7 separate regions of the Homo sapiens genome follow, and all the other regions are linked to region 5. The links are contacts of gene promoters, found by promoter capture Hi-C in blood cells and fetal thymus (Javierre and others, 2016). All regions are on one chromosome and are shown on one strand. Each heading gives the region's core, a stretch centred on a gene start or on the middle of the fragment in contact. The rest is flanking DNA. Distances are from core to core; before and after follow the strand shown. Region 1 holds the start of DTD2 (D-aminoacyl-tRNA deacylase 2). Region 2 overlaps HEATR5A (HEAT repeat containing 5A). Region 3 overlaps HEATR5A (HEAT repeat containing 5A). Region 4 overlaps HEATR5A-DT (HEATR5A divergent transcript). Region 5 holds the start of AP4S1 (adaptor related protein complex 4 subunit sigma 1). Region 6 overlaps HEATR5A (HEAT repeat containing 5A). Region 7 overlaps HEATR5A (HEAT repeat containing 5A).

Region 1 (3,378 bases), core at 75-2,574, 430 kb before region 5:
CATGCCATTTTCCTGCCTCAGCCTCCCGAGTAGCTGGTACTACAGGTGCCCGCCACCACGCCTGGCTAATTTTTTGTATTTTTTAGTAGAGACTAAAAATGGTTTCACCGTGTTAGCCAGGATGGTCTCCATCTCCTGACCTCGTGATCCACCCACCTCAGCCTCCCAAAGTGCTGGGATTACAGGCATCAGCCACCTCGCCAGGCCTGCACTTGTATTTATTAACATATCCTATATAAAGTCTCAGGTAAGAGGCTCAGCTGAGAGCTAAATCTGAGGAAAAGCTCTGCTTATCCCTAGAACTATGAAATAGATTATACTGCCCTTCCCTATCCTCTCCTATTTACAACCAGGAAGCTTAGCATCAACTCTAAGGAATCTTTTAGAAATGGTTCTCAAACTTTTCATGTTTGTGAAATACTTTGAATGCCAGAATTTAGGGCAGCCAACTTAAATGAATTAAAGAAGGTAAAATAACACTAAATTAGTTATTGTACCATCTCAGAGGACATAGAACCCATCCACAATTAATCCCCTATCCATATGGTACACTTTCAGCATTGTAGGTGTTTGAGAATTATCTCTGCTCAATGATTTCTCATACAATGACAAGGCAAAGCTCTCTCACATTCCAGTGAACCACCATCTTCTTGTAAAGCCAACTTAATGCTATGCTTTGCCTTTAGTTCCAACTTGAAACAAATTGTACAACCTACAGCACCTCAATACTACATACAATGAACATAATTGTTTTATAACAAAAATTAAAGTTATACATTTGTGAAAATTTTGCTGCATACTATATCATCTCAGCACTCCAGTTGAGAACCACTGTCTTACCTGTTTTCAATTTCCCCCATTGTGGCTTACTGACATAATTCTAGTTTCTTTATTTCTAATGCTTTAATTCACATTTTACTATTTTATTGCATGCATGTCCTTCCTTCTTAAATTATTTGCAGAATGAAACTAAGTGTTCAAAAAATAAAATACAGAAAGGAAATGCTGTCTTTGGTGGCCACTCTCTATAGCCTTCTGCAAATAGAAGTAAAAAATAAGTGAGCCACAGCCTATTACAGTACCTACAGCAATGTCCACGAGATCCTCACTCAATAGGAGGGTTTAAAGTAATTAGTGATTTTTGAGAAGCTAACCATTACCATCCATACTCCATCTATTCTACTCACAGGAAGGGTTTCCCAATTTGTTAAAGAAACCCTCTCTGTAGAAAGATCTCTGCGAACCACATAACCTATTCTCTATAGACCTCCCTATTTCCTGCAGCCACATACAAATGGACACCAAAGTCTTTTCTTATTCTGGGACATAGCTAATGGTTTGTATGTCAAAGTTTCTTTCAGGCCTGTAAAATCTGAATCTGAGAGCCGGAGAGAAAAGAGACTCAGTAGTTATAATGACATAAAGGTGCAGACATGAAGCAATTCAACTTGTCTGTGCTTTGCAGACAAATGTCAACAACTGTTGGAATCCCTGCAATGCAACAATCAGAGATCATGTGAGATTTTGCTTTCTGTTTTTACTAAAAGTGTAAACCTGGCTGCAAGATAACCAGCAAACAAGCAGCTTCGATTTTGTGTACAAAGGACTGTTGATTATGCATGGACTATTTTCTTCAGTCACACTACTTTGTATGGATAGCAACACTGTCAGTGATGTCATCTTTTTAAACAACAGATCCGAATGTATAGGCACATTGTGTCAACTGAGCCCAAATCAATGACCTGGGTAATGCAATCAGGGTAACACTATTATTCCTCATCTAAACCATCCAAGCCCATAGACAAATAAATGCTAATCTGATGCATGTTTAAGGAATACGTTACATGGGAAAGAAAATCAAGCCCTTGTTTAGTTTTATTTACATTCTAATATGTACTTCCAGAAAATGCATCACAGAATTTACGTCATATGCATCAGAATAAGCTGTTTTATTTTTGTATTAGTAGCGGGCTAAGTTATTAACAATCATACTTTCTTGGATAAGAACATTTTTAACAAGGATATCTTCTAAAGAATGTGTATTCGTATAGCATACCAATACCTTTTCACAACTGTGGAATCAGAATAATTTATGGCATTCCCGATAGAGGAGGCAGCATTGTTTTTATTGATTGGAATAAGGAAAATTTTGAAGGATGTATATATAGCTTTTAGTTCCATCTCCGCTTGCTTTATGATTCGATTATTTGTTTACTTACTTTCATATGGGCATAACATGAATTTAAATCAAGCAGATTTAAAATTTTTCAACAGTTGGAACCTAAGCTTTCTGAGGTGAAAAATGTTTCTTAAAAGGTTTGTAGGAAAGAGATTTAACGAGTCTTTTCAATCGTTTAATAAAAGTATACACTGAGCGCCTTCTACAGAGTTGGGCAGGTGCTGCCGAGAAGCTTAGCGCTACGCCGGCCTCCAAGACCGCACATCCGGGACATTCGAGAGTCAGTCCGAGGCCCCGCCCTCCTAAGGGCGGGGCCACTGGGCAATCGGCGCAGGCCCTTCGTCGTGCCCCGCCTCGTCTGCCCCGCCAGCGCGTCGAGGGAGGGGCCAGCGACACATGGCCTAGTAACTGTCCGGCCGCGGCGCTGGCTTAAGCCATGGCTGAGGGTAGCCGGATTCCTCAGGCCCGGGCGCTCCTACAGCAGTGCCTGCACGCCCGGCTGCAAATTCGCCCAGCCGATGGGGACGTCGCGGCCCAGTGGGTGGAGGTAACGTCAGCCCGGCAGCTCTCGTTATCCTCCGGCGTGCGGGGCGGTTTTTTCCGCGTTGTCTCGGTGACTCGTCCGCTCTGTGTCTCCCTCTGAGACCGGCGGTCCGGCCGCGGGGATACCGGGTCAGCTTGAAGCTGGCCGCGGTGGCCTGCCTGGCTGCGCTTGTCTTTTCGGTCCAGCATCACCGTTCCCCAGCGCCAGTTGTAGCACCCGAGAGGAAGAGCGTGTCTCCCTTCTTGGGGGGACCACAGGTATTTGAAACTGAGTTCGGTGAACTTCAGGCCTTACTGTCTCAGACCCCTTGCAGCTCGTGGTCTATGCTGGTCGGGGGCAAGCTTGTAGGTCAGGTTTGCTGCAAGAGTTCATGATCTGCTTTGACTTACGCCTCAGATCGCGTCGAATTCCCCCCTATGTTGACTTGGTCTTAGCATAGAAATGAGATTTCCTAAGAAACAATTCTATTTCAAGAAGCCTTTTAAAAGTTTTGACCAATTTCCAACTGAGAAACAAAGACCTCTACTTTTATAACAATGTTGCCTTATCAAACACATTTCTCCAAAGAATTTAAAACATTTATGTCACTATGAGTTCCTTCTACTTTCATACATACTTTACTTTTTAAGACCGCCTGCCCCCACTGCATACAAAA
Region 2 (3,420 bases), core at 43-2,542, 320 kb before region 5:
TTGGGGTCCCTACATAGGTATTTAGGAGGAATAAGTTCTTCTCAACACCTAAATTCTTGTATTGGAATCCTTTATACTTTGGCGCAGGACAGCACTTCTCCTGATGTGCAGGTGGGTACCTCATGTGATACTTCCCTTGAAATTCATGATTTTTAGATGATGCAGATTGTGTTTATATTGAACATTAATAATTTATGAATATAGTTTCCTCCCATAGTAATTGTGGAAGCCGTTGTTAACCTTGGTGGATTTTTAAAATTAAAATCTTCCCCCACACTCAGAGTCTGAAGTCAATTTCAGTGTGTTTTTCTGAAAATGTATCTCTGTTCCATCTTAATGATAGCTTTGGGCTAGAAGTGGTGGCTCACGCACATACTCTCACACTTCAGGATGCCGAGGCAGGCAGATTGCTTGAGCTCAGGAGTTCAAGACCAGTCTGGGCAACATGGTAAAACACTGTCTCTACAAAAGATACAAAAATTAGCCGGGCATGATGGTATGCATCTGTGGTCTCAGCTACTCAGGAGGCTGAGGTGGGAGGATGGCTTGAGCCGGGGAGACAGAGGTTGCCATAAGTCCAGATTGTGCCACTATGCTCCAGCCTAGGCAACAGAGCCAGACCCTATCTCAAAAATAATAATAATAGTAATAAATAATAATAACAGCATCTACTATTTTAAAGAGCTTAATAGGTACCAGGTGTTACGATACATTCTTCTAAGTCTCATAGTAATTCTTTTAGTCCTTGTAATAATTTATTAGGGTGTATATAGCCCATTATGGGGAAATAAAACTGAGGCTTAAGAAGCTAAGCAACTTGCTCACAACTGAAAAGCTAATAAATCATGGAATCAGATCAAGAACACAAGTCATAGACTCCAAACTCCTGTTCTTAACCACTTTACCATATCGTTGTACATATCTTACCTATTTCTGTCAGTAAAATCATCATTCTCCTATCTTAATCAAATATGGAATGATTTTTATTTCTCCCGTTCTTTTACTCCCCTTCTGTCGTCTTATCTGTCTCCCTTATTAATGTGTGCCAAATTACTGTCATAGCCTCCTAATTCGTCACATTTTTAGGTCCTTTTCTTTCGAACTCTCTCTAGATATAAGGCTAAATTCGTTTTCCTAAAAGATTTTCATCTTGCCACTTTCCTGCAGAAAAGCTTGACAAAGTGCTTATTGCTTCTTGAATCAACTTCTTTATTCCAGTCCCATCAACTGACCCCACAGATGTTTTCTGTTACTACCTCAAAGTGTTGACTTCTACAGATGATTTATCCACATGTCATTCTCATGTCTACATTTACCTTTTCTTTTTCTCTTCTCTCCTTACATGCCTATTTGATATTCCACATCTTTTAGTCTTTTAAGATCCAGTATAACCACCATCTCACCAAGCTTTAATCCAGTTAGCTTTCCCCCTCTGAATTACCATATTACTACTCGCCTCCTCCACTTCATCTAGTACTTGACTGAATTGACTTACAAGGTTTCCATTTTTCACCCGTCTTTATATATAGTACTTTTTGCTTCTATTATATTCTTCTTCTCTCTCTTCAAGAAGTCTATTCTGAATGTACCTAGTTGTATATTGAATACCTTTTTTGTTGATTAATTCATATACTTTCTGTGGCTGTCAGTGTCATTTCTGAATTTTCTTGATTGCTCTCTCTCACCTAACAAATAGGAGCTCATTTTTGCAGCATTTAAAGTACTGTAAGCTTTCTTATACATCCATTGATAAGAGGAATAAAACTTTTTCAGTTCATTTTCTGAAGAGAGAGCTTTTAATTTACTTCTTGTTATAGAACATTAAAACGTACACAAAATTAGAAAGTATACTGCAATGAATCTATTATACTCATCACCTAACTTCAGTGGTTATCAGTATATGACCAGTCTTTTTTCATTTAAACCATTGTGTGTGTGTGTGTGCGTGTGTGCATGTGTGTGCGCACCTGCCATAAATGCACATATCTATGTACAAACAGTACATTATGTAACCACCTCCCGAAATCAAGAAACAGTCCATTATCAATACCCCATACACACTTCTCATACTGTCTTCTAGTTAACTACCTGCCCCCACCAAGGATAACCACTATCCTAATTTGCAACAGCATAAATTAGTTTTGCTTGCTTCTATACTTTATGTAAATGGAATCATACAACATATATTCTTTTATGTCTGGTTTTCTTCACTCAACATTATGTTCAAGAGATTTGTCCATATTGTTGAATGTAATTGTAGATTTTGTTGAATCTTTTTAAAAACTTGAATTTTCATTCTTTCTATAGATTAAACAATAAACAATTTTTCAACAAACTAGATTTGATTCAAACTGTTAGCTGAAGTACCAACTATTACTTGCAATTCTTAATGATGAACTATATCATTCTAAATTGGATGATTGCCTCTGAGTTGGAAGTCCTCCATTTCTCTTTCCACATGAGTAGTAGCATTCACATTTGCTGTTACTTTATCACTTGCTTCAACAAAAGAACAAGTTAATTTATTTTATGTTTCTTAATGCTGCTGTAATGTTTTTAATTGTTTTTCTTTGTCATTACAGACCTGGGCATTACATTCTCTATCATTGATCATTGATTCTGCTGGCCCACTCTATTATGTGCATGTGGAACCTACCCTTTCTCTTATTATAATGTTGTTGTTAAATGTGCCTCCTACTCATGCTGAAGTTCACCAAAGCCTTGGTCGCTGTTTGAATGCCCTTATTACCACGTTAGGTCCAGAGCTACAAGGTGTGCATAGCTGCTTTTGTGATGTTTTACATTAAAAATAATACACATAAAAGTGAATTCAGTTCCTAGTCTGTATGCTTGGCACGTGATAGGTGCTGTATGTTTTGTTAAATGAATGTATAAATGCCATTCAGCCTGATTTCTCTTACCTTGAAAAGACAGAGTACAATATTTAGACAATTACATATCTCCTAAAGATGCCTTCCTTAACAGTTAAAATGACAGACATGAAGCAGAATCATCCAAAGAGCTGTGTTCTCTATTTAAGAAATAAATGGCTAAGTCCAAAATTTCAAATATTACGAGCTGTTCAAATTGCATACTATTACATGATTATAATACATGAAAGTAATTCTTAACTAATACAAGTGAGGCTAAGTTTATTGGCAATTTCTAATTCCACTTTTTATGAAAATTTGGTATAACCTACTGATAGTCTTAGGTTCTTCTTTGCCTAATAATTTGTGTTGTAATAAACTTTTCAGATTAAGAATAACTAAAGTAGGTCAGGCGCAGTGGCTTTCACCTGTAATCCTAGCACTTTGGGAAGCTGAGGCAGGTGGATCACTGAATCGGGTCAGGAGTTCGAGACCAGCCTGGCCAACATGGTGAAACCCCGTCTCTGCTAAAAATATGAAAAATTAGCCA
Region 3 (3,122 bases), core at 557-3,056, 360 kb before region 5:
GTAAGTTGTCAGAGAACATTATTTGACAGTGAAAGCCCTTCTAACCCATACTTCTCACAAACTCGTAAATATATTTAAAAAAATACACCATTATTCCTTTCTTTCTCATTGCCACTCCTGTGTCATTATGGAGTTTGATAGTATATCCACCATAGTGTAGGCTCTGCAGAAGACCATTCCATAACTTGAACAATTCCAAAAATATTTTGAGTATTGCCAATGCCACTGAAATAAGGTAGGTGACAACTTTGGAAGATGAGATTATTTAAATTTATTATTTTAGTTATATTCTTAACACATCACATCTTGCTAAGCAAAGACTTGTCATTCAATGTATTTAATTAAACCTATTCTCATATCTCATTAATTCAGACAAGGTTCCCATTCCCATATTATATTTGGAATTTCTTTCCGAGAGAATTATCCACTTGTTCTGATTTGACTAGAATGGTTTGTTTTGTCCTCACTCTTTTTGAGTGCTATCCATTGACTGTATGAGCTGCAGGGAGTCCTAAATTAGTAGTAAGTTGGTTGGTTGGTTTAAAATACACTAGCCTTCTTCTTTAGAAAATTTATATGCCAACTCATAATACTTCCTGCTTTTTCAGAGGTGATTGGTAATAGGTGTTTTCTCATATTAGATGCTCTCTGGCCTTGTACTGTGTAAGCATACATTATCCATAAATGTGAAATGTCCTGTTTTTCTTCTCTGTTGTTTTATAACATGGACCCCTTTTTTTGAAACAGGGTCTTGCTTTGTCACCTAGGCCAGAGTGCAGTGGCGAGATCATAGATCACTGCAGCCTCAAATGCCAGGGCTCAAGCAATCTTCCCGTCTCAGCCTCCCAAGTGGCTGAAACTACAGGCACGTAATTCCATTGCCTGGCTAATTCTTTTTATTTTTTTGTGAAGATAGGATCTCACTCTGTTGCCCAGGCTGGTCCTTTTTTTTTTTTTTTTTTTTTTTCCAAGGAGACATGGTCTTTCTTTATTGCCCAGGCTGCAATGCAGTGGTGTGATCCTAGCTCACTCCTAGGCTGGTCTTGAATTTCTGGCCTCAATTGGTCCTCCCACCTTGGCCTTCTGAGTCGTTGGGATTACAGGCATGAGCCACTGTGCCCAGCCTCATAGACTTTTTTACTATAACATTTTAATAAATTTCACTCTTCAGTATGAGACTATTTTGACTACCTCTAACCACTATAGTATACTACCTCTTGGAAGACTATTATCAGCTACTGAGTTACAAAAGTAGTATGTAGCTTTTTTTTGTTGTTGAGACTGAGTCTCACTCTGTTGCCCAGGCTGGAGTTTCAGTGGCATAATCTCAGCTCACTACAACCTCTGCCTCCTGGGTTCAAGCGATTCTTCTGCCTCAGCCTCCCGAGTAGCTGGGACTACAGGCATGTGCCACCACGCCCGGCTAATTTTTTGTATTTTTAGTAGAGATGGGGTTTCACTGTGCTAGCCAGGATGGTCTCGATCTCCTGACTTTGTGATCCACCCGCCTCAGCCTCCCAAAGTGCTGGGATTACAGGCGTGAGCCACCGCACCTGGCTGTATGTAGCATTTTTAAGAGAGAGACTCCTGTAAGAAAACTTTTTTTGGATAATTATGGATTTAAAAGGATAGTTGCTCAAAACTAAAAGTAAATTCAAATTCTATACAGCTATACTTGAATAATCTTACATTGTTGTCACATGTGTTCTACAAAAAATTATGGGATTGTTGTGTACTACCTCATATACCAGTATTTAACCTTGAAAACTTAATTTTTTATAGTTTCCTTTATGACAGTCCTATTATGTAGTCTACACGAATGACAGTTCTTTATCGTTTACATTTATTTTATGTAAGAATTAATTTTTCAAGATATTGTTAGCTGCTATCATTTAGTAATTTATAAACTGATATGCTTTTTTTAAAACTTGTTCTATATGTAAATAGATTATTATGACATTAGCAGAGGATTTGCTGTGTTCTGCTGCTCAAAACAGTCGCCTTTCAGCTCAGCGCACACAAGCTGGATGGTTGCTGATTTCTGCTCTGATGACATTAGGTAACAGTCTGTAGAAGGTTTACATACCTTGAAATACTTTGTGTTTTCTGAGTGAAATGATTCTTATATGTGATTTGATGAAATGAACTTTTAATACATACCAGAATTTAAATAGCCACACAAACATTTTTCTTGTAGTAGTCACCTTAAAAAGCCTTTTACTTTCGTCATTGCTTAAAACCTTTTGAGATCTCTCTTGATTTTCTCTTCCGGGCTAGATGATAAGCCTCAAGTAGGATAAGCCGAGTTACTAATCATCTTTCAGGCTTAACTCTGAACAACTGTGGCTTTTTCAAAAATCATTGACATCCATCTTCAGAAAAAAACATTTCCACAATATAGGCAAAAGAACATACCCATAGCTTGGGAATCCAGTTCTATAATTGTTTGAGGATTCATAACAGCCAATAAGGTTGCTACATTGAAGGGGATGAATTTTACTTAAATTATATTTATTAAAAAACAGTAATTGTTTTACAGTCATGACTATTTATATCCTCTAAATTTTTGAGACAGGGTCTCACTCTGTCACACGAGCTGGAGTGCAGTGGCATGATCATGGCTCACTGCAGCCTTGACCTCCTGGGCCCAAGTGATCCTCCTACCTAAGCCTCCCAAGTAGCTGGGACCATAGGCATGCAACATCATGCCTGGCTAATTTAAAAAAATTTTTTTTGTAGAGATGGGGTCTCACTATGTTGCCCAGGCTCGTCTCGAACTTGTGGGCTCAAGCAGTCCTTCCGCCTTGGCCTCCCAAAGTGTTGGCATTATAAGCATGAGCCACTGAAAACTTTATTTATTTATTTTTTGCCCAGTCTTATGGTGCTAATGAAACTTAATTTTATTACTCTATCACACCTATATTTTAAGTCTCTGTTGTCATACAAGTTATAGCTAGATATAAAACAACTGGCTGAGGCTGGGCATGGTGGCTCACGCTTGTAATCCCCGCACTTTGGGAGGCTGAGGCGGGTGGATCACTTGAGGTCAGGAGTTCAAGATCAGCCTGGCCAACAAGGTGAAACCCCATCTCTACTAAAATACAAAAATTAGCCGGGCATGG
Region 4 (3,151 bases), core at 165-2,664, 410 kb before region 5:
AACAGTATCTGAGAACCATTAGCTATTATTGCCATAAACATTTGAGGTTGGGAAAGTAATTGTGGGCTTTTTTTTTGTTTTAAGGGAAGGTATGGAGTTTTTTTAGAAAATGTCTGATCATACTAGCGAAAATGTAACCCTTGGCTCCAACTTTGAGAGACTGTTTACTTCAACCTTGTACTAATGTAGATAGGCTAAGGCACACTTTCTATTCCTGGCATTCTTCTGATTTCCTTAGCAGCCCCAAGGTATGTCTATGAGCAAACATGACCATCTTTTAAGTTTAGTTTGCTCAATGCCTGCATTATTTTTTCTTCTGATTACATTCTGAAAGTCCTCGGGGCTTTTATTTCTTTTTTTTTTTTTTCTTTTGAGACACATTTCACTGTCGCCCAGGCTGGAGTGATCTTGGTGCGATCTTGGCGCGATCTTGGCTTACTGCAACCTCTGCCTCTGGGCTTCAAGCGATTCTCCTGCCTAAGCCTCCCAAGTAGCTGGGATTACAGGTGACTACCACCATGCCTGGCTAATTTGGTTTTTTTTGCTTTTTGTTTTTTTGAGACAGAGTCTTGCTCTGTTGCCTAGGCTGGAGTGCAATGGTGTGATCTTGGCTCACTGCAACCTCCGCCTCCCACGTTCAAGTGATTCTCCTGCCTTAGCCTCCTGAGTAGCTGGGATTGCAGGCACTGGCCACCACGCCTGGCTAATTTTTTATTTTTTTAGTAGAGATGGGGTTTCACCATTTTGGACAGGCTGGTCTCAAACTCCTGACCTCGTGATCTGCCCACCTTGGCCTCCCAAAGTGCTGGGATTACAGGTATGAGCCACTGCGCCTGGCCTAATTTTGTATTTTTTTGTAGACACGGGGTTTCTTTTTTTTTTTTTTTTATTGCTATACTTTAAGTTCTAGGGTACATGTGCACAACGTGCAGGTTTGTTACATATGTATACATGTGCCATGTTGGTGTGCTGCACCCGTTAACTTGTCATTTACATTAGGTATATCTTCTAATGCTATCCCTTCCCCTCCCCACACCCCACGACAGGCCCCGGTGTGTGATGTTCCCCATCCTGAGACATGGGGTTTCACCATGTTGACCAGGCTGGTCTCGAACTCCGGACCTCAAGTGATCCACCCACCTCAGCCTCGAAAGTTTTGGGATTACAAGCGTGAGCCACCCCACCCAGCCACAGGGCTTTTACTTCTTTTCATTATATACATATTTGCCTTTTAAAACCCATATGTTGAAAATCTAACATTTGCTTAATACTGCATAATGGATACTTGCTTTCCACTTAAATGTTGTGGTCTTTATAATCTGCAGGTCAGCAGTGTAGCTAGGGGCTGTGTGAAATGTTTAAGATATGATCACTAGCCCCAAGGAATTTACCATCTAGTAGGGGACACATTAGCCACAAAAATGCACTAGGTAGTATGTGGTCTCTGATGTCTGGACAATGCTATCAGTGAGTTTTATTAATAAAATAGCTGCAGAAGGAGAAGACACTTTTGGCTAGGGTAGTGAATCTTCATTTAAAAATGTATTGCTGGCCAGGTGTGGTAATCCCAGCACTTTGGGAGGCCAAGGCAGGAGGATCACTTGAGCCCAGGAGTTCAAGACCAGCCTGGGCAATACAGTGAGACCTTGTCTCAACAAAACAAACAAAAAACTGTGTCTTTTATTTTTCTGTGTGTGAGTTTATGATCTTTGTTTTCTTTATTTCTTATAAAATAAGCGAGAGATATGAACATCAATCATTATAAAAAGCAATCAGAAAAGCCACAAGGTTTAGACTGGGAGAGAAGATAGTCACAGTTCCCGTGAGATTTACACCATATTAAATAGACTTTGATAAGATTGTGTTTTAGTCTTGGATATATCCAAAACTGGATCTTTTAAATTAGAAGGAATTGGTTAGACTTTAATTAGACGAACTGAAAAAATGTTTAGGTTTGTGTTCATTTGAACCAGTTTCTTTTAATTCAACTAGTTTGTGAGTTGTTCATCAAAATAACCACATTCTTGTATCTCTTGAGTTTTCATTTGGTTTTTAAAGGCTGAACCAAAAAGCGTCAGGGTTTTCACACAGCCTTTTGCCATTTCATAGCTCCATGTTTCCTTGGTGATTCTAGTGTTCATAGTCTGCCAGGTCCACTTGGAGCTGTTGCCACTCTGCATTCCTCTTCCATTGTTGGTAATATCCTTTTTTTTCTTCTTATTTCTGTAAAGAAAGTGACTTATTTTCTCAGGGTTCTGAGTTGGCAGAAGTTACTGCAAGTATTAAATCTCCGTTCAATAGTGAAAGAGAAATATCTGATAATCTTTAAGCAATGATTAAATTTTGTGTCCTCAATCACGTTGGTGTTAGATTGCTTTTTTTTGCTTTATAAATCTGCGCTGAATTTTTGTTTCAAGATGTTTTCAGAATATTGTTTAAAATGTTACTCAGTACACTTGCTATCATCTCATAAATAATAGTGAGTGCCCATATGCTTCAACAAGGTTTTTTTTTAAAAAATCCCTTTCCCCCCAGTGGTGATATAAATTTGCTATTTCCTAGACTTTTCTGAAAATTTTATCGGCATGTTCTATTTTACTGAGGTCTTATGACCAGAAAGTGTTCATCACTATATGGCCCACAGATTTGTGTTTATCCTAAAATATGTATAGGATTATCATGATACCATATTAATTCCCATATTTTCCCCTTATGTTTTAATTTAGAAACAGGAAAGAGAAATTTTGCAAGCATTTCAATACTGAACCACTGCTACTCAGTTTGATAAATATTTGCAATTATTACTAGATTTAATGAGTGAGATACTTGCTACCTTGTATGTGTAAAGCACTGGTAGGCATTATAACCAAACAGGTAAGTATACTGCGCAGTGACCATCATTAAGAAGCTTACAACAGTGATTTACACAATAATCAATGGAAAAAAATTTGGACTTTAGCTCCCTCACACTCAGAATTAAAAAGGCATAGTTTCTTCAACAAGAATTTATTTAGAGTCTACTTGTATACCAAGTATACAAGTAGATACAAAAACAAGAGATACAAAGATAAAACATATTTCCCTCCTTTTGGGCCTCATATCAGTATATTTCAGGAGACAGATTAAGGCAAGGGATATAGATTTGGAAGTT
Region 5 (3,380 bases), core at 1-2,500:
GGGCCCACCCTTGGGACTGCCTGAAACACTCAAAGAATGAAAAAGAAACGTCAGGAATCCGAGACGGGATGCGGTCGGCCAGAGCGACCAGCCAGGTTAACAACCAGCTCAGAAAGCCGGGACACGGGTGAGAGACCCCTGGGAAGGAAACAGCGCCCGGGGACGGCCTGCTAAAAGGAAACTGATAACCAGGAAGCCTAAGGCCGCCTCGCTTCCAAAAGTCAGAGTCGGAGCCCAGGTGTCCGGTAGCTGCGGCCAGACACCGGATCGGGTCTGAGGGCGGGCCTAGGGGCGGAGCCCGAGCTCTTTCCCCGCCCTCTAACGGCGACCCGGGCTGCGTTCTCAGTGCGCCGGCGTAGGGTGAGGCCGGACTCTATTTGGCGATTAAGCGTGAGGCTGCGTTCGCTACCCAGCATGCTGTGCGCTAGTGACGGCCCTCCGCCTATCCCCTTCCCAACTCTCCCCCCACCCCTCCCGCCGAGGCCCCCCCTTCCCCTAAAGTGAGTGAGTGAGACGGGCAGATGGAGGAGGGATTGTAATGGCGGCAGCCGGCAGCTCCCTGCTCTGACCCACGGCAGGCACACAGCAACGACCCCTTCCCCGCCCCTCTCCCGGCCGGCCTCCGCCCCGCAGCCAGCGCGGGGCCACCCTCTCCGGCCCTTCCCCCAGCTGTCGGCGTCTCGCCCTGCGCCCCGGCCGGGGCCCCACACACAATGGACGAGCTTGCCGGAGGCGGTGGTGGCGGCCCGGGGATGGCGGCCCCTCCCCGGCAGCAGCAGGGACCTGGGGGGAACCTGGGCCTTTCGCCCGGGGGGAACGGAGCGGCGGGCGGCGGGGGTCCTCCGGCCTCCGAGGGAGCGGGTCCCGCGGCAGGCCCCGAGCTGTCCCGGCCGCAGCAGTACACTATCCCGGGGATACTGCACTACATCCAGCACGAGTGGGCTCGGTTCGAGATGGAGCGGGCGCACTGGGAGGTGGAACGGGCCGAACTGCAGGTACCTCGTTGGGGTCGGTGTGCGGGAGCTGCGGCGGCTGGGTTCCCGGCCGGGGGGTGGGGCTGGGGACTCCACTCAGCCGGAGCCGGCGCCTTGGGAGGCCGAGCGGAACCTACCTGTGCTGCTCAGGTTGTGATGGTCCTCTCAACGGCTTTTCCTGGAGTCCCCCTCCCTCTTTCCCGCATAAGCTTGCTCCCCAACCTTCACTGGCTACGCGGTGCGGGCCTCCTCGGGGCAGCCATTTTGGCTTTTAGTATGGCGTCTGCGGGGGCTCCTCCGGAGGCGGCCTTCCCGGGCCTCCGGGGCTTGGGACCGAGCACCTCTCTGTGGGAGAGTCCGGTTTGGGGCCTCTCAACACTGAGTTTGCTCTTGTTTGTTCCTCTTGAGATGAAGAGCCCGAAGAGAGGGACTAGGATAGGCATCTTACCCCCCTTTTCCGGACCACCCCCCTTTCCGATTTGGCGTATCTGGCCCCCTCCCTCAGACTTGGTACGCGCTTGCCCCTTGACAGCCACGCTTCTTTCCTGGGCTGCTAGGGTGCACAGTGACTTGGGACTGACCTGTGAAGTTTTATTTCCCATCGTCAACTTTAAGTACTTTCTCACCTGAGATGCTGCCTTACTCACTTGGATTCTCTGTAGTTATTCCTTACTTAGTGACTCATCAACGCTTTCAGCACTGAATTTTTCTTTTTACAGTACTCTCCACTAGATCTCCTTTCCCCCATCCGTTTCTTTATCTATAAAAAAACCAAACCAGACGATCGATGCTGTATTTATGAAACGACTGAAGAGATTTAATATTCCCTTGAAGTGAAACGTAGTTATATCATGTTACTTACTCTTGCAGGAGAAGCAAAGTGAGATGTTCTCGGAACCCTTCATAGTTGAGCTTGACTCGATCCTCATAATGTGAACCTTTGATAGGCTGCACATTTGGAAGCTGTTGGTAGTTAACAGCTCATGTCCTGGATCTCAAAATTGCTGCATCTTTTTGAAAGGGTTATTTAACTTTCTTGGGTATTTGTGTTTATTTTTAAATACCTTTCCAGGGCAAATTTAGGCTTAGAAGGAAAAAGCGTGTGTCTAAATAGTATTGCACCTGTTCTTCAGACTGTTGTGTATTTAGGGGGTAAGCAGTATTTGCTGTCATATATGTCATATGCCTATGGTGAATCGTTAGGCAAATGTAGTGCTGAAAGGAGGAGGATTGGATTAACTAGAAAGGGTGTCCTCAAATATGCATCTCTTTAGTTTGGTTCTGAACTAGTAAACTTTTATATGACTCCACAAAGTGGGTGAAGTTAAACTTTTCAAAAGTAAAAAATACTTGGGTATTTTGACACTGTATGAAGTCTTAAAAAAAAGTAACACTTGTTAGTCATTTCAGTGCTTTACAATTGTGTTTTGATATAATATTGGGCTTTAAAATTACATAACTTTAAAAAAGCTGAAGTCAAAACTGGTTTAAGTTGTGTACAGTCTGCTTTAACATACTTAAAATTTATAGAATTCTGTTGGTATACAGCTTTCTACTACATACTGCAAACTTAATTTTCTGTGTGAGTAAAGTAAGTAAGGCATTTGTTTTTAAAATTTGGATTGACAAATGCAGTAAGGCCTAAGCTCACTAAATAATACTTCACCAGTCCCTGCTATGGTTTCTTAGACCTTTGTACTGTTGTATGCAAGTTTGGATTTCAACACTCTTCAAGTTAGCAATTGCATTTTTCACCCATAAACTTCACTAATGTAAGCAGCTGAGAAGAAAGATATCTTGTGCCCAAATTAGTAAAACCTATACTATATATTAAAGAAGCCTTTATTGCCTGCTCTAGCATTTGCTTTCCCTTCTAGGTCTCCTTAACAGCAGCAGCAGTGTTTTAAGGTAGATTCCTTTTGCTTGCTTGCTTGCTTTCAATTCTATTGGTACAGTACTGTTATTAGCCATCCTAAGTTTTTGTTTGTTTCCTTGTTTTGAAGAAGTCCTACAGTGTTTCTAGACTCTTTTTTATTTCATACTGATTCTTTTGGAATAAAATGTTCATGATGGCGTTGGTTTTTTTTTTTTTGAGTTATATATTTAAAATGTTTTATTGGGTTAACTTAATAAGGTTTCTAGTTTGCTTTAGGTGCCTTCAGTCTACTGAGATTGCTTGTGAGATGCGTATTTTAAAATGTATGTGTTGAATACATATTTGTGGGAGGGTGTAGTGAAGCATCAGTGGATTTTTACTGTAAACTTAAACCTATTTTTAAGAAAGACAATCTAGAAATAAGACAACTTACATATTATTATGTACAGTCTCCAGTGCACTGTCATGTACACAGATTTTTAAAGTGTTAATTATTGAATAGTTTCAATAGAGAACGTGAAGAGCTTAAG
Region 6 (3,504 bases), core at 335-2,834, 300 kb before region 5:
TCACACACCTAAGAAAATCAATATTGATTTGCAGCCCTCACACACATTTCCCTAGTCATCCAAAAAATGTCCTTTATGATTCCTCTCCCCTCACTGCCACCTAAATCTAAGATCCAGTCATGACTCACATTACCTTAGCTATTATATCTTGTTAGATCCCTAATCTGAAACATTTCTATCACCTCCTTCTAATATTTAAAAGATAATTTCTCTTTTAAAATAGTCTAGTACCAACAAAACAAAACACCCACAAAGGCCAGGCACAGTGGCTAACTCCTACAATCCCAACACTTTGGGAGGCTGAGGCGGGTGGATCTGAGGTCAGGAGTTCGAGACCAGCCTGGCCAACATGGTGAAACCTCGTCTCTACAAGGTAATAAAAAAAAAAATTAGCTGGGCATGGTAGCACATGCCTGTAATCCCAGCTACTGGAGAGGCTGAGGCAGGAGAATCGCTTGAACTCAGGAGGCAGAGATTGCAGTGAGATTGTGCCACTGTACTCCAACCTGGGCGACAGAGCGAGACTCTGTCTCCAAAACAATAAATAAATAGAATAGTCTACTAATAATATAACCTTTCAAATCTACATGCTTTCATAAATGCTAGATGAGTTAACTCTTCAAGAGAAAATGTATTTGTCCTTTTGGCATTTTCAGAATTAAAGGTAATAGTAGATGCTAGATCAAGGCTAGTATTTCCCCTTTGAGGTATTACTTTGTAGTGAGAATATTGTATAGTGATATATGTTTATTCAGTAGTCCACAATAGCTTAGTTGTAGTAATTAAACAGTGTTCTCCATATAGTGTTTGTTTTCTGTTTGAGCTTTACTCTCACGTTAATATATTTTAAAGCTTTATACCAGAATAAGGAAAACTTAATTATGTTTTTTTAAAACTAGAAAATAATTATACTGGGCCAGGCGTGGTGGCTCATGCCTATAATCCTAGCACTTTGGGAGGCCTAGGCATGTGGATCACCTAAGGTCAGGAGTTCGGGACCAGCCTGGCCACTGTTGAAACCCGTCTCTACTAAAAATACAAAAATTAGCAGGGCGTGGTGGTGGTCGCCTCTAGTCCCAGCTACTCAGCAGGCTGAGACAGGAGAATTGCTTGAACTCAGGAGGCGGAGGTTGCAGTGAGCCAAGATTATGCCACTGCACTCCAGCCTGGGCAACAGAGCAAGACTCGGTCTCAAAAAAAAAAAAAAAAAAAAAAAAAGTGCCACTGGAGGCTGGGCACTGTGGCTCAACGCCTATAATCCCAGCACTTTGGGAGGTTAAGGTGGGTGGATCACTTGAGGTCAGGAGTTCAAGACCAGCCTGACCAACATGGTGAAACCCCGTCTCTACTAAAAATACAAAAATTAGCCAGACATGGTGGCAGGCACCTGTAGTCCCAGCTACTTAGGAGACTGAGGCAGGAGAACCAATTCAACCCGGGAGGCAGAGGTTGCAGTGAGCCGAGATTGCACCACTTCACTCCATCTTGGGTGACAGAGTGAGACTCTGTCTCAAAAGGAAAAAAAAAAAATTAAGCACTGAATAAAATTTGTAAGTATTGAGCTGGGTTCAGTGGCTCACACCTGTAATCTCAGCACTTTGGGAGGCTGAGATGGGTGGATCGCCTCAGGTCAGGAATTTGAGACCAGCCTGGGCAACGTAGTGAAACCCCATCTCTACTAAAAATAAAAAAAAATTAGCTGGGCGTGGTGGCGGGTGCCTGTAATTCTAGCTACTAGGGAGGCTGAGGCAGGAGAATTGCTTGAACCTGGGAGGCGGAGGTTGCAGTGAGCCAAGATCGTGCCATTGCACTCTAGCCTGGGCAACAAGAGTGAAATTCTGTCTCGAATAAAGAAAAAAAAATTTTGTAAGTATTGGACACTAATTGGGTAAAACTTTTTACCTGATTAAGAAAACATATTAATAATAACATATGAATACTTTTTTTCAGTGACATTACATAAAATACTGCTATATAGGATCATAAATCCCAAAATTCAAGTGTGAACTAAAATGGATCTCAGTAGATTAAAGCACAGTATTTGGGCTAGTTCTTTAAGATGTATTTTTATCTACTATTTGAATAACTACTGAATGTGTGAGCTTCTGATATGGTAGTTTTGTTTTCTGTATTACTTAGATAATTGATTTTCTTCTTGTCAGATGCTAACATCAGAGAAGTTGGCCTTGAGGGGGCATTGTTGATCTTACTAGACAAGGAGACAGATGAGAGATTATGCCATGATATCAAAGAGACTTTAAATTATATGCTTACATCTATGGCAGTGGAAAAACTCTCCCTGTGGTTAAAGCTTTGTAAAGATGTACTTGCTGCATCAGCTGGTAAGTATTGGACATTATCAGTTAAAATAATAAAATTGAAATTTGAAACTTTACATAAAATTGTTTACCACTGAGAATTCATCAGTCTTGTCTAACTAGCTGGATTCTGACTGTCTGATTGTTGCTTTTCTTCAAATGAAGATTGTATTTCTAGTGTTTTAGAATTCTCTGTAATTTGAACAATATAAATCCAATACTTAAGCCTGCTCTTTTTCCCTTTGGCTGTCTTAGATGACTTTCCTATATAAAACAAATTAAAAAGTAAAGTTATTGTTTATGCCCTAAAAGGTGTGACTTGATGTATATTGTTCCCATCATTTCTTTTCATACATACAACAAATATTTGAGACCAGGTGTGGTGGCTTACCCCTATAATCCCAGCACTTTGGGAGGCTGAGGCAGGCAGATTGCTCAAGTCCAGGAGTTTGAGACCAGCCTGGGCAACGTGGCAAAACACCATCTCTACAAAAAAAAATTTTTTTTTTAATTAGCTGGGCCTGGTGGCTCACACCTGTAGTCCCAGCTGCTCGGGAAGCTAAGATGGGAGGATTGCTTGAGCCCGAGAGGCAGAGGTTGCAGTGAGCCAAGATCACACCACTGCACTCCAGCCTGGGCAACAGAGTGAAACCCTGTCTCTACATACATACATACATACATACATACATACATACATACATATGTTCATACATACCCACCCCACCCCTCGCACCGTATGAAATTACTTAGTCACCATAAGAGAAAGTTATACAAAGTTATGACATTTTGAGCAAGCCAGTTTCACTACATACAATAATGTTAATTTCAAGTAGTATTAGAAAACTGTTATTACCCTAATGTCTTTAGTAATACAAGATAATTGTTCATGAGAAAGTATATTCAAATCTTTAAAATTTGTATCCTTGGAGTAAGAGAGAAAATAAATGAGAGGAAGAGAGAAGAGAAAAACCAGTTATTTTCCAAGAACTGTATATAATTTATCTGATTTAAGCCTTTAACCCATTCTATGCATAGACAATTTTATTCTGTTTTATAGAAGAGAAAATAGGCTTGGAGAGGTAACCTGCCTGAAGACATAGACAGATTCAGTCCTACGCCTACACAACTTTTAAAATCCACAAGCCTTCCACTGTACTTCAGTGCTCCCAACTCAGTTGCCCAAGCC
Region 7 (3,504 bases), core at 726-3,225, 370 kb before region 5:
ATGAGTGTGAAAAAGGAAAACTGATCACTCATACCCTTCACCTACATTCAGCAATTAGTAACATTTTGCCGTGTTTGGTTGATTAATTTACTAAGCCATTGAGGTGGCACTTTACTTTTAGCCTACGTCTCCTAAAAATAAGAACATTTTTTCACATAATCACAGTACTATATGCAGTTCCAAAGTGGTAGAAAAACACTACTCATGGAGACATTTAGAATTTAACAGAAGACATTTTATTTATGAATTTAAAATAGTAGCATTCCAAAACACATTCTTGTTCTGAGACAACAGGGAGCTGTGTGACTCTAGTTATCAAAATATTTGACAAGTTTGCTGATCTTTAAGAGAGGGAAAAAAAGCAACTTCTAGATTTGGGGAAAAAAAAACAAAAGACAAAATTCTATACACTGACAAATATTTTATTGTGGAATTTTAGGCCTCATTGAGCACCTGAATACCATTAGCTTTATAATGATACTGTGTACTCTTTATTCAGATAGCAGACAAGGAAAATGGAATAATGTTATTAACATTTATATACGTAAGCTTGCAAAAAGAAAATTGCCCTACACTTAGGAATAGACCTGAATAAAACAGGTAGCCATTACAAGGTCAGCTCTGGTTATAGATTATAGTTTACTGCTTTATGCAGCTATATATGAGGGAGGTGTAGGATTAGTAACTCAGATGCTGTAGTTGAAAATACAAATTTGGACATGGTGATGCATGCTTATAGACCAAGTTACATGGTAGGCTGAAGCAGGAGGATTGCTTGAGCCCAGGAATTTGAGGCTGTAGTGTAGCACTATAATTGCTCCTATGAATAGCCATTGCACTCTACCCCAGGCAACATAGTATGACCTTGTGTATTAGTCCGTTCTCACACTGCTATAAAGAACTACCTGAGACTGGGTAATTTATGAAGAAGAAAGGTTTAATTAATGCACAGATATGCAAGCTTAACAGGCATGAGTGGGAGGCCTCAGGAAACTTAAACAGTCATGGGAGAAGGCGAAGGGAAAGTGAGGACCTTCTTCACATCATGGCAGGAAGGGTTGCGGGGAAGTGTCACACACTTTTAAACCATCAGATCTTGTGAGAACTCACTCACTGTCACAAGAACAGCATGGGTGAAATCCACCCCCTTGATCTAATCACCTCCTAGCAGGCCCCTCCCCTGAAACATGGGAATTACCATTCAGCATGAGATTTGGGTGGGGATGCAGAGCCAAACCATTTCACATTGTCTCTATTAAAAATAATAATACGCGGTGGCTAACGCCTGTAATCCCAGCACTTTGGGAGGCCGAGGTGGGTGGATCATAAGGTCAGGAGATCGAGACCATCCTGGCTAACACCGTGAAACCCTGTCTGTACTGAAAATACAAAAAATTAGCCGGGCATGGTGGCGGGCGCCTGTAGTCCCAGCTACTCGGGAGGCTGAGCCAGGAGAATGGCGTGAACCCAGGAGGCGGAGCTTGCAGTGACCGGAGATCGGGCCACTGCACTCCAGCCTGGGCGACAGAGCGAGACTCCATCTCAAAAAAAAAAAAACAATAATAATAATAATACAAATTTGCTCTGCCTTTCAAACAAAAGAAGAAAGATTTCGAATACATAGAGCCCTTATATTTGTTAACAGAGATTGCAGTGTAATGTGGTTCGGAATTTTTGGAGGGCTTTTTTATTATTAGCAGGGCAGCAAACTACCTGATTAGTCTGGCATAATGACCACACTACCAACTTATTTGTAACTTCCAGTCAAAGTAAGTTTGTATTTTTCTAGAGCCTTTTTAGTTCTTAAATATATGAAAGAAAAATTATATTAGGGGATTACAGATAATTATATTGACTTTGAATTGTCTTTGTGTTATCTTTCTTTCTAGAATGATGTAAGGGAGAAACAGAAGACTCTTGTTGAACAGCTCCTGTCTTTGTTGAACAGCTCCCCAGGGCCTCCTACCCGCAAACTGCTTGCTAAGAATCTAGCCATACTTTATAGTATTGGAGACACATTCTCCGTTCATGAAGCAATCGATAAATGTAATGATCTTATTCGTAGCAAAGATGATTCTCCAAGTTATCTTCCCACTAAGCTGTAAGTGAAACATTAAAACAGAACAGAAAACAAAATATTGCTTCCTGTTGTATTTTTATGAAGTACCCATAGTACTTGACATTTACTTTGAAACTGAATGCAAACTCAGTTTTACTCATTTTCAAAATCTAACTTAAAAAAGAAACTAACACTTTTCATGTTAGTTGCTGAGAAACAATTCTACAAATACTTTAGACGTATTTGAAGTCTAGATTTGAGATTCAAAACATCTTCCTAAAATTTTAGCAGTTGAGTGTTTAAGAAAGATATTTTAAATTCTTCACATTTTTGGATGCTTTTATAATTTATTCATTCTTGGTTATGAAAATTGATAGTAAATATCATGTAGAAAAGTATTTGCTAAGATCCTAAAAAGAACAGCTTAGTTTCTCTATAGGATTTAGTTCATTTTATCACCTATTATCTTTAAAAAGGCAATGAGCCATGTAATATTTCTTTTTTTTCCTGTTTTTTGAGACAGAATCTCTGTCCACCCAGGCTGGAGTACAGTGGCGTGATCTCGACTCACTGCAACCTCTGCCTCCTGGGTTCGAGCGATTCCCCTGTCTTAGCCTCCCAAGTAGCTGGGACTACAGGCACATGGCACCACTTCGAGCTAATTTTTGTATTTTTAGTAGATACGGGGTTTCACCATGTTGGCCAGGCTGGTCTCAAACTCCTAACCTCAAGTGATCCACCCACCTTGGCCTCCCAAAGTATTGGGATTACAGGCATGAGCCATTGCACCTGGCCACCATGTCATAATTCTATAAAGTTTTTGTTGGTCTCATTTTTACCTTATAACAGAATGTATTCCCCCATAAAGTTTTCAGATTTCAAACTTGATGAGAACATTATTTCTTGTTTTTATTTTTATCTTTAAGCTTATCTTTTTGTTATCTAATATGTAGCTGAGTTCTGTTGAAATATTTTGTAGAATTTTGTAACAAACTTGAGGGTGTGTAATCTTTGGGCTGAATAGTAGAGTAATCACAGATTGATACATCCTTATTATTGAAAGTATAATCATATTCACCTAAGTGTCGTGCCTTAGGATTTAACCACAGAATAGATTCTTAGAAATTTTATCCTTTCAAAGCAAAATTTAAAATAGTCACTTTTTCAACAAATGATGCCAGTATAACTGTATGTCCACATGCAAAAGAATGAATTTGGACTCTTCTGTTACACCATGTATAAAAAATTAACTCAAAATTGATCATAGATGTAAGTGTAACAGCTATTACTGTAAAACTCATAGGAAAAAACATAGGGGTAAATCTTTGTGACCTTGGCTTTGGCAGTGTTTCTTAGACACAGCACCAAAAAGCACAACTGACAAAAAATAGATGAGACTTCATCACAATTAAATATGTTTGTGTTTCAAAGGATAATACAAAGAA

What was found. The method cuts DNA at HindIII sites, captures the fragments that hold promoters and counts their contacts. A CHiCAGO score of 5 or more calls a contact.
Region 1: a fragment that was not itself captured here is called in contact with the fragment with the promoter of AP4S1 in region 5 in 2 of 17 cell types (naive CD8 T cells and neutrophils); the score reaches 5.5 in naive CD8 T cells.
Region 2: a fragment that was not itself captured here is called in contact with the fragment with the promoter of AP4S1 in region 5 in 1 of 17 cell types (naive CD8 T cells); the score reaches 5.1 in naive CD8 T cells.
Region 3: a contact is called between a fragment that was not itself captured here and the fragment with the promoter of AP4S1 in region 5, in 4 of 17 cell types (non-activated CD4 T cells, neutrophils, M0 macrophages and 1 more). The highest score is 7.1, in non-activated CD4 T cells.
Region 4: a contact is called between a fragment that was not itself captured here and the fragment with the promoter of AP4S1 in region 5, in 1 of 17 cell types (neutrophils). The highest score is 5.9, in neutrophils.
Region 6: a contact is called between a fragment that was not itself captured here and the fragment with the promoter of AP4S1 in region 5, in 3 of 17 cell types (non-activated CD4 T cells, naive CD8 T cells and M1 macrophages). The highest score is 6.2, in non-activated CD4 T cells.
Region 7: a fragment that was not itself captured here is called in contact with the fragment with the promoter of AP4S1 in region 5 in 1 of 17 cell types (neutrophils); the score reaches 8.0 in neutrophils.

The regions. Positions count from the first base shown.
Region 1 is chr14:31,456,631-31,460,008 of GRCh38, reverse strand. It overlaps DTD2 (D-aminoacyl-tRNA deacylase 2), which reads left to right and starts at 2,503. Exons shown (of 3, transcript NM_080664.3): 1 at 2,503-2,726. The coding sequence starts at 2,616. RefSeq lists enhancers at 2,339-2,518, 2,659-2,868, 2,313-2,898, 2,899-3,378. The HindIII fragment of the contact is 1,929 bases long and covers 360-2,288 here.
Region 2 is chr14:31,344,439-31,347,858 of GRCh38, reverse strand. HEATR5A (HEAT repeat containing 5A) reads left to right here. Exons shown (of 36, transcript NM_015473.4): 19 at 1-111; 20 at 2,583-2,772. Among named protein-coding and RNA genes, the nearest start is that of HEATR5A, 74 kb to the left of the region's middle. The HindIII fragment of the contact is 235 bases long and covers 1,175-1,409 here.
Region 3 is chr14:31,379,404-31,382,525 of GRCh38, reverse strand. HEATR5A (HEAT repeat containing 5A) reads left to right here. Exons shown (of 36, transcript NM_015473.4): 11 at 1,948-2,059. Among named protein-coding and RNA genes, the nearest start is that of HEATR5A, 40 kb to the left of the region's middle. The HindIII fragment of the contact is 5,231 bases long and covers 1-3,122 here.
Region 4 is chr14:31,438,744-31,441,894 of GRCh38, reverse strand. The region is part of intron 2 of HEATR5A-DT (HEATR5A divergent transcript); the gene reads right to left. Among named protein-coding and RNA genes, the nearest start is that of DTD2, 17 kb to the left of the region's middle. The HindIII fragment of the contact is 2,993 bases long and covers 1-2,910 here.
Region 5 is chr14:31,023,519-31,026,898 of GRCh38, reverse strand. It overlaps AP4S1 (adaptor related protein complex 4 subunit sigma 1), which reads right to left and starts at 1,250. Exons shown (of 6, transcript NM_001128126.3): 1 at 1,112-1,250. It overlaps STRN3 (striatin 3), which reads left to right and starts at 520. Exons shown (of 18, transcript NM_001083893.2): 1 at 520-995. The coding sequence starts at 714. RefSeq lists enhancers at 22-181, 1,292-1,401, 1,472-1,571 and silencers at 312-631, 722-981, 1,121-1,302. The HindIII fragment of the contact is 24,948 bases long and covers 1,186-3,380 here.
Region 6 is chr14:31,325,001-31,328,504 of GRCh38, reverse strand. HEATR5A (HEAT repeat containing 5A) reads left to right here. Exons shown (of 36, transcript NM_015473.4): 23 at 2,163-2,342. Among named protein-coding and RNA genes, the nearest start is that of HEATR5A, 94 kb to the left of the region's middle. The HindIII fragment of the contact is 1,459 bases long and covers 855-2,313 here.
Region 7 is chr14:31,398,898-31,402,401 of GRCh38, reverse strand. HEATR5A (HEAT repeat containing 5A) reads left to right here. Exons shown (of 36, transcript NM_015473.4): 3 at 1,890-2,101. Among named protein-coding and RNA genes, the nearest start is that of HEATR5A, 20 kb to the left of the region's middle. The HindIII fragment of the contact is 2,024 bases long and covers 964-2,987 here.